Linked DNA regions of Homo sapiens: region 1 is linked to region 2. The links are contacts of gene promoters, found by promoter capture Hi-C in blood cells and fetal thymus (Javierre and others, 2016). All regions are on one chromosome and are shown on one strand. The core of a region is centred on a gene start or on the middle of the fragment in contact, and the rest is flanking DNA. Distances in the headings are between cores, read along the strand shown.

Evidence for each region. The method cuts DNA at HindIII sites, captures the fragments that hold promoters and counts their contacts. A CHiCAGO score of 5 or more calls a contact.
Region 1: a contact is called between a fragment that was not itself captured here and the fragment with the promoter of PLCB2 in region 2, in 2 of 17 cell types (M1 macrophages and M2 macrophages). The highest score is 7.6, in M1 macrophages.

What each region holds. Positions count from the first base shown.
Region 1 is chr15:40,222,157-40,226,142 of GRCh38, reverse strand. The region is part of intron 1 of BUB1B-PAK6 (BUB1B-PAK6 readthrough); the gene reads right to left. The region is part of intron 1 of LOC107984763 (a long non-coding RNA gene); the gene reads left to right. Among named protein-coding and RNA genes, the nearest start is that of BUB1B-PAK6, 6.7 kb to the right of the region's middle. The HindIII fragment of the contact is 1,303 bases long and covers 1,990-3,292 here.
Region 2 is chr15:40,305,642-40,309,469 of GRCh38, reverse strand. PLCB2 (phospholipase C beta 2) reads left to right here and starts at 1,535. Exons shown (of 32, transcript NM_004573.3): 1 at 1,535-1,881. The coding sequence starts at 1,798. The HindIII fragment of the contact is 15,701 bases long and covers 1-3,735 here.

The sequences.
Region 1 (3,986 bases), core at 1,392-3,891, 84 kb after region 2:
GCCTATAATTTCTTAGCCTAGATTAACCCAGTACATTTTTTAAAAAAGCAATTCATGTACATGGTCAGAAAATTCAAAATGCTTATAAATGTACAAATTGAAAAGTAAGAGCCTTCATTCTTTCCTCTCTCCACTCCCATACACTCTCCCCACCAAAGGCAATCACTTTTTCCCCACGGCTTTTTTCCCTACATAGGCTGAAAATGTCTGCCTATCTCTCAGGTTCTGCCATCTACAAGGGCTCATGGCAAATTGGAAGGGCGTTCCCTGCCAATGGTGAGGCACCCTGAAGCCTACAGAGATGGCTTGCCAGCGCCTCTGCACTAGTGCAAGCACTACCTTCCTGGGGTCTGTCACGTGGATTATCCCTCTGGGGACTGTCGAGTCTTGGAAGCAGACAGGACAAGTGTTAGAAACAGTGCTTTCTCTGAGCTCCTGTGTCAATGCTTTTGTGAGATAAATTCTTAGGAAAATTTCTCAGCTAAAGGGAATATTTAAGTGACTTTTGCCAAATCAACTTCTAATAATGTACCAATCTGCATCCCAATTAATAATATATGAATGCCTGTTTCTTATCATCCTTACAAATACAATTTTCAACCATTTAGAGTGTATGACAATTTCTCATTTATTTTGCATTTTATTTAATTAGGAATGAACATCTCATGTATATGAGCCATTAAAATGTTTTAGTGGATTGTTCATGTCCTTTGTTTCTTTTATCAATTTTTTATTTTTAAGAGTTTTTTGTACTTTAGGTAAAACAGTTTTATTCATTCAGGCACTGTTCTAGACAGTGCAGTCAAACAGGAAACAAAGAAAATCCCCACCCTTAAGGAGTTTAAATTCTAGTAGAGAGATAAAGAAAAAAAAGTGTATGTATACACGCACACACACAACACAGACACACGCACGAGGCGGTGACAGGTGCAATAGAAAAATAAAGGAGGGTAAAAAGGGATAGAAAGTGATAGCAGTGTGTGTGGGATGGGATGCTATTCTGTGCAGTGTACAGAATGGTCAGGGACAGCCTCTCTGATAGAGTGGAGATTGGAGAAGACACCTACCTGAAAGGAAGAAAGGGAGTAATTTACATGAAGATCAAGGAAAACAAGGCCAAAAAACAACTGGCCTTAAAAGCCAAAAGGCTTTAAAGAGAGGGAGAGGGAAATTAGTTGGCACATTTGAGAAGCAACAAGGAGGCCGCCTACAGCAGTGTGGGTGAGGAAGAGGGGAGTCCGGGAGGAGGTCAGAGAGAGTGGGGTCAGATAGGGTGGGGTCTTATAGGCCATGGTAAAGTCTTTGGAGGGTTCTGATTTGGCTGGAGGTGGGTAGGAACAACAGAGTCATGAGACCAGATGAAAGTGGATGCAAGCCTGGACAACACAGCAAGACTTTGTCTCTACTAAAGATTAAAAAAATTAGCCAGGTGTGGTGGCGTGCACCGAGACTCCCAGCTACTTGGGAGGCCTGAAACCAGGAGTTGATCTTCTTACCACTGCATTGCAGCCTGGGCGACAAAGCAAGATCCCTGAGTCGAGGCAAAAAAAGATGTAAATATTTGTTGCCAGTAAATGTTCCTAGTTTGAATTTATGGTTTTAATTTTTTTGGAGGGGAGGATAGGTATCCATCCTATATTTAATTTTTTATCTACTATAGTAATAGCAATCTTCTGGTTTATATCTTGCTTTTATGTCACACAGGCAAAAGATTGCAAAACCATCTATTACATTGTATTTTGATTAAAATTTCTGATTTCTCCAAAATTATTTTGGGGATAAGCAGTGAAACAGGCAAGATCAATGCATAAGACTGCACAATGTATTTGCTGCACAAGGGTACCAGGCTGAGGGGGTAAGTGGGGACTGAAATTCAGTCAAGGTATGGTGCATTGGGAGGTACTGAATCCACTAAAGGAAGGGGCCTTTTCTAATTTGCACGAAGGTGCTATATGAACTAGTAGTGTCAATGGAGATAGAGTTCAAGCTTTAATCCATTGTGGGTTGTTTTTTCTTTTTTTTTTTTTTTTTGAGACAGAGTTTCACTCTTGTTGCCCAGGTTGGAGTACAATGGCATGATCTTGGCTAACTGCAACCTCCACCTCCTGGGTTCAAGCGATTCTCCTGCCTCAGCCTCCCAAGTAGCTGGGATTATAGGCATGCACCACCACGCATGGCTAATTTTGTATTTTTAGAAGAGACGGGGTTTCACTATGTTGGCCAGGCTGGTCACGAACTCCTGACTCAGGTAATCCACCCGCCTCAGCCTCCCAAAGTGTTGGGATTACAGGTGCGAGCCACCACACCCAGCCTAATCCATTGTTTTAACACCAGTTATTAAATAATCTTTTCACATACTGACTTAAAATGCCATCTTTGTCCTATTAAATATTCATAGCTTCTTATGTCTCTGGTAGAACCAAGGACCCCGTTAAGGTAGAAGTTTGCCATATTACAAAAAAAATTTTTTTAAATGCATTCTCCTCACTAGGGAAACCTTTATTTTAGGAGCCAAATTAGAAGCTAATTTTGGCACATTAGAAAGAACTGGTGCAGTTGGAAGAATTCCTCATTTTCAGATGCAATTTCTTTGCTGTCTTTGCTTAAAGGCTTCAGCTTAAAGACACCAATGAGTTATTTCAAAGAACCTTGTGCTCACCTTCTGAAAGGCTTTCTTATCTACCTTGAGATAATAGCTCAACCAACAGTCTGAAGTCTTACTGCTCCAGGAAAATCTTTATTTCCAGGTTTAGGTTTGGCATCAGTTAGAGCACTCTGACTTGGTGGAAGGTTTCTTATACTACTGCCATAGGAGGACGAAGGCTCTAACAGTGGAGTAGTATCGGTGGATGTACACTTTGTGAATGGTGAGATGCTATATGTGATGTGGTCTCTTTTCAAACAAAAGTAAAACTCCTGCCTTTTCAGCTGTCCCCCACTACCCAACCAGGTCCATCACTATGCTATTACTGCCTTAGTGAGACAAGAAATAAGAACCATTTGAAACTTCTGCCAAAAAGGAAAGGCTTCCTTCTCCCAAGACAAATAAGCATAAAATATAAGGGAAATGTAAAGGATCTCACTTTGTGGTTTTATGCTTAGGCAAACTGAAAACCTAAGACAATTGTAAGTCCTAAATGGTCAGGTAAACTTTTCTCCTCTCTACAAAGGGCTGGGGTTGGAAGAGATTGGAATGGAAGGGAGGGGTGGCAAAACAGATGCAAGTTCTCTAACAAAGTAGTTTCCTCAGATTCCCCTCCCTTTCCTCACAGCCTACTCCAGAAACAAAGCTTTACTTCACAGCAGCCTGCTGTCAAGGTTGCTATTCACTACATAGTAGCTAAGCCTATATTAAGAATAAATCTAAATTTTCTGTCCAGTCTCAGAGTAATAACTTCATGTGTCAACACAGTGAACTGAGAAATGAGGAGAGCAGAGAGGAGAGGGGCTTGATTATGTAAAAGATACAGATATATCATTTTACATCATCAGTATAAGAAGCAAATGTGAGAATGTTTGGAGAGCTGTATTTTGGTTAAGAGCAAATATTTCTAAGTTGATTATCTTTCAGATCCAAGTCATGTTGCAGTGCTTCAACTATATATGCTTAAATATTTTTAGTTGAGACATACGTAGGATTTTTTGCTTTCCAGCAATCTTAGAGCAGTAACAGTGACAACTAGAGTAAAAAAAAAATAAGGCACTAGCAAGGAGGAACATTAGATAATTTTGGTATTTAGATATGAAATAGATAATTAGATAATTTTCTTTCCTTTTTTTGTTAGAGGCAGAGTCTTGTTCTGTCGCCCGGAGCAAGAGTGCAATGGCGCAATCATGCTCACTAAACCTTGAACTCCCAGGCTCAAGCAATCCTTTCGCCTCAGCTTCCCAAGCAGCTAGGACTATAGGCAAGTGCCACTGCACCCAACTAATTTATGTTTATTTTTATTTTTTGTAGAGATGGGGCTCACTTTGTTGCCCGGGCA
Region 2 (3,828 bases), core at 286-2,785:
GGAGGGAGAGAGGAGAGATGACGCTAAGGGACTGGGGGAAACGAGGAAGAAGAGTCCTCTGAATTGTTACCATTTCCAGAGGCTTGGTCAGGCCCTGCTCCGGCTCCATCCCCCGGCCCTAGAATTGCTCTTCTGCAGATTATTTCTGTGCTGGGAATTCCCTTAGCTCCAGCCTCCACTGGGCAGTTTATTATCTTAATTCCGCATGAAGAGTGTCCTCCCTCACCCTCCACCCTGCCCTGGACCAGACCTCCAGCCGCGACAATTCTAGGGCCTGGGTGAGGGTCTTACCGTTGTTGGGGGTATGCAAAGCCCCATGGGGGGGTGACCCAGGGCAAAAGGCCAGGCCCCAGAGGGGAAGGAAGTCTTGGGTAGAGCTCCCTGCCTCCCAGGCTGGGCTAAGAAGGGCGATAAGAGGAGCAGATTAGGCAAGAGGAAGTGGGCTGGGCTGAGCTGGACTGGTGCTGAACTCCCTGGGCCTGGGGCAGAGTGTGGGTCAGGCACCTGAGCAGCTGGGGCTGAGCCTGGCCAACCAGAGCAGCCATCCCTCCGCCCCAGCCCCGCTGCAGGCTGGGGTACACAGCAGAGGCGGGCACACGGAGGAGAGAGGAGAGCGCAGTGGAGGCAGGGGCTAGGGCTGCTCAGTGGGGGTCCAGGCCTCAGGCAGTCCCAGAGGCCCAGAGGTGGGAGTCTGGTGAGGTGGGTGAGGGGAGTGATTGCCTTGCCTCATGTGCCCCTCATTTTCTTTCTTTTTTTATTTTTTTCGAGATGGAGTCTTGCTCTGTCGCCCAGGCTGGAGTGCAGTGGCGCCATCTCGGCTCATTGCAAGCTCCGCCTCCTGGGTTCATGCCATTCTCCTGCCTCAGCCTCCCGAGTAGCTGGGACTACAGGCGCCGCTGCCACGCCCAGCTAATTTTTTGCATTTTTAGTAGAGACAGGGTTTCACCGTGTTAGCCAGGATGGTCTCGATCTCCTGACCTCGTGATCCGCCCGCCTCGGCCTCCCAAAGTGCTAGGATTACAGGCGTGAGCCACCGCACCCGCCCGCCCGGCAGGTGCACCTCATTTTCATGGGGGAGGAAGCATTGAGAAAGAGGAGCCGTGTGTTCAGCAAACTTTGCTTATTCAAAACACTCCATTCCAGCTGGGCCCTGTCCCCACCCCACCCCTGCCTCTACGGTGCTCCCAACCTTTGGGGTCAGATGCCCATGCTCTGGACCCTTCCCCTGAGGAGGTCCTTTCTCCTAGTGAGCTCCCTGTGCCTTCCCTCAGTCCAGGCCTGGGCAGCAGTCTCCCCAGCTGGTCTCCATGTCGTCCTTCTCCAGCCCTCCTGGGCCAAATCTGACCAGAGACCACCACAGGGACTGAGAGGCCCTGGCTCCAAGGCGACCCGGCCTCATGACCACGTCTCCGCTGTGAGCAGCGCAGAGAAGGAAGCCCAGAGCAGGAAGTGCTGAGAGGCACAGGGTGGGGCTGGGGGTGGGGGCGGGGGCCTCCAGAAGAGGCGGGGGCTTCCTGCTTCAGCCTCCTTGGGCAGAAGCAGTGACCACAGGCCCCCATGGCAGGCAGGGCGGGTGGGAGGAGGGTGATTTACAAGGCAGATGGGCCTCTGGCTACAGCTCAGTCCTGCACTCAGCCAGGGCCACCCCAGGGGCTATAAGAGCAACTAGATTTCTGGAGCAGCTCGGGGATGGGTGCCATTTGAGCCCAGCTTGGCTCCCCCTCCTGGCTGGCCTCCTTCCTGCCCTTCTGCCTGCCTGTGTCTGCTGAGATTCTGCAAAGAGGAACGCTTGGCACCATGTCTCTGCTCAACCCTGTCCTGCTGCCCCCCAAGGTGAAGGCCTATCTGAGCCAAGGGGAGCGCTTCATCAAATGGGATGATGTAAGTGGGGCAGGGGCCTCAGCTGCTGGAGCACCAGGTGGTGGGGGCCGGGCTGCTACGGGGCTTTGCTTGGGTGGGAGGATTGGTTTATGTCTCCTAGGATCCAGGCGCCTGTGTGGTTTGGCCAGGCAGCTGACACCACTGCTTGGATAAACAAACCTGGGATTAAGGGTGTATGTCCCCAGCTAAAGGGCTAAGCCTTGGTTCTAGGTGTGAGAAGTGGGTGAGCTGCCTGGGTGGTCACTGGAGGTAGTTTATTTGGGTCTGCTTCTCTTCTCCTTCAAACCCCCAAGAGAAGAGGAGGAAAGTGCACCCCAGAGCTGAGGCAGGCTAGGAGGAGAGGTGAGCTCGTCCCCGCTCCCAGCACAGATGTCTTGCCCTTGCTCCGGCAGGGCGCTCAGACCCAGCTCCTTCACCCCCTCCACTGGGCATCATCCTGTCCAGGGAAGCCTTGCTCTCCCCTGCGCTGCTGTGGGGGCAGCCACAAAAGGCCCCTGGACCTAAGTGAGAACTAGAGGCTTCTGCTCCCAGGGAAGGAGCTGATTTGACTTCTGCTACCCCTTGCTGGGCTCAGCATTGCTCCCCGATGCAGGCCTGTCAGCAAGGGAAGGGGAAGACACTGCTGCACCCTGCAGCCCTCTCTCTGCTGTGTCTGTTCCTTCCTACACGGGGCTGCTCCCAGGCTCTGGTTCTCCTGGCCCCTGAAAATGTTACCTTAGGCCAGGGATTCTCTTAGGCTGGAGAGAACAATATGGAGATTCTCCTTCAGGGAGGGGAGGCTGCTGGGCTCGCCCAGTCTGAGAGTTAGAGTGCTGGGCTTGTCCCAGGAAGGGAAATGAAGGCTTGGTGGGGGAGGGAAGACAGCCCTTAGTGCTGACTTGTCCACCTGATGGGAGGTGGGATGAGGGGGTCTGGGTCTAGGCCCTTCGGGGCTGGGCTAGGCTAGGGGATCTCGCTGCCCATGACTATGGGTTGGGGCCCTGTGGTGAGATGCTTCCTGCTTCCCTAGGAGTGATGTGGGGTTGGTGTAGCATGGCAGTGGCATGGAGGTGACATGCCCCAGGAGCCTGTGGAATGAGGGAAGTGGCTCAGAATGAAAAGCGAAGTGGCCTCTCTCAGTTCCTCTGGGCAGTGTGTGTAACCTGACTGGGCAGAGGGTCACAGGGTGGCAGTGGAGGTCGGGGGTTGGTGGCCAGCGGAGACTGTCCTTCTTCCTAAGCTGGCACCTGTGTACCTGGCTGTTCCCTTCCCCTCTCCAAGGTAGGGCATTGGATGTTCTCTGGATCCTGACCTGCACAAGCAAGAATGTCCCAAGCCTATCCACAGGTCCATGCTGCTGTGAGACAGGGCTCTGCTTTCAGGCTGCTTTTGGCACAGTTAGTGGATGGCATGGGTGTGCTGTGCCATGTTGAATAAGCAGAATACATAGGATGTAAGCAAATCCCAACTTTATTTCATCTCCCATGGCCTCTTTACAATATATTTGGTAGGAGAAGCTCTCCCCCTGGCCATGGAAAGAAACTCTGCAAGGCCACAAGACATTATATTTACTCTCAGGTAACACAGTCCAGTGGTCACTTTTCATCACAAAATCCAGTCCGATGTCAGAAACTGGCTATAATCAAAACTCCAACCTTTATTTACACTGACATCTTCTACCCTTCTCCTTCTAGGAATGGTTTCAGGTAGGCTGCAGGCCCCCTGGAAAGGGCCTTGGTGGGATTCCCTGCTGGTCCTGCTCAAGGCCCCTCTAGGCATGAGCTATAGGGAGGGAGGTGGGAAAGGGGTAACCAAGTTCTATTTAAACAGGTGCTGTCATAAATTGGCTCATGCTTTCTGAGCCTGGCAGAAGCTTAAAGCTGATTCTTTCTCTGGAGGACATTTTTGAGGATTCTTGGGAGACCCACCCCTTCGAATGGGAACCTGTTGCTTGAAGTCCCCCCAGCA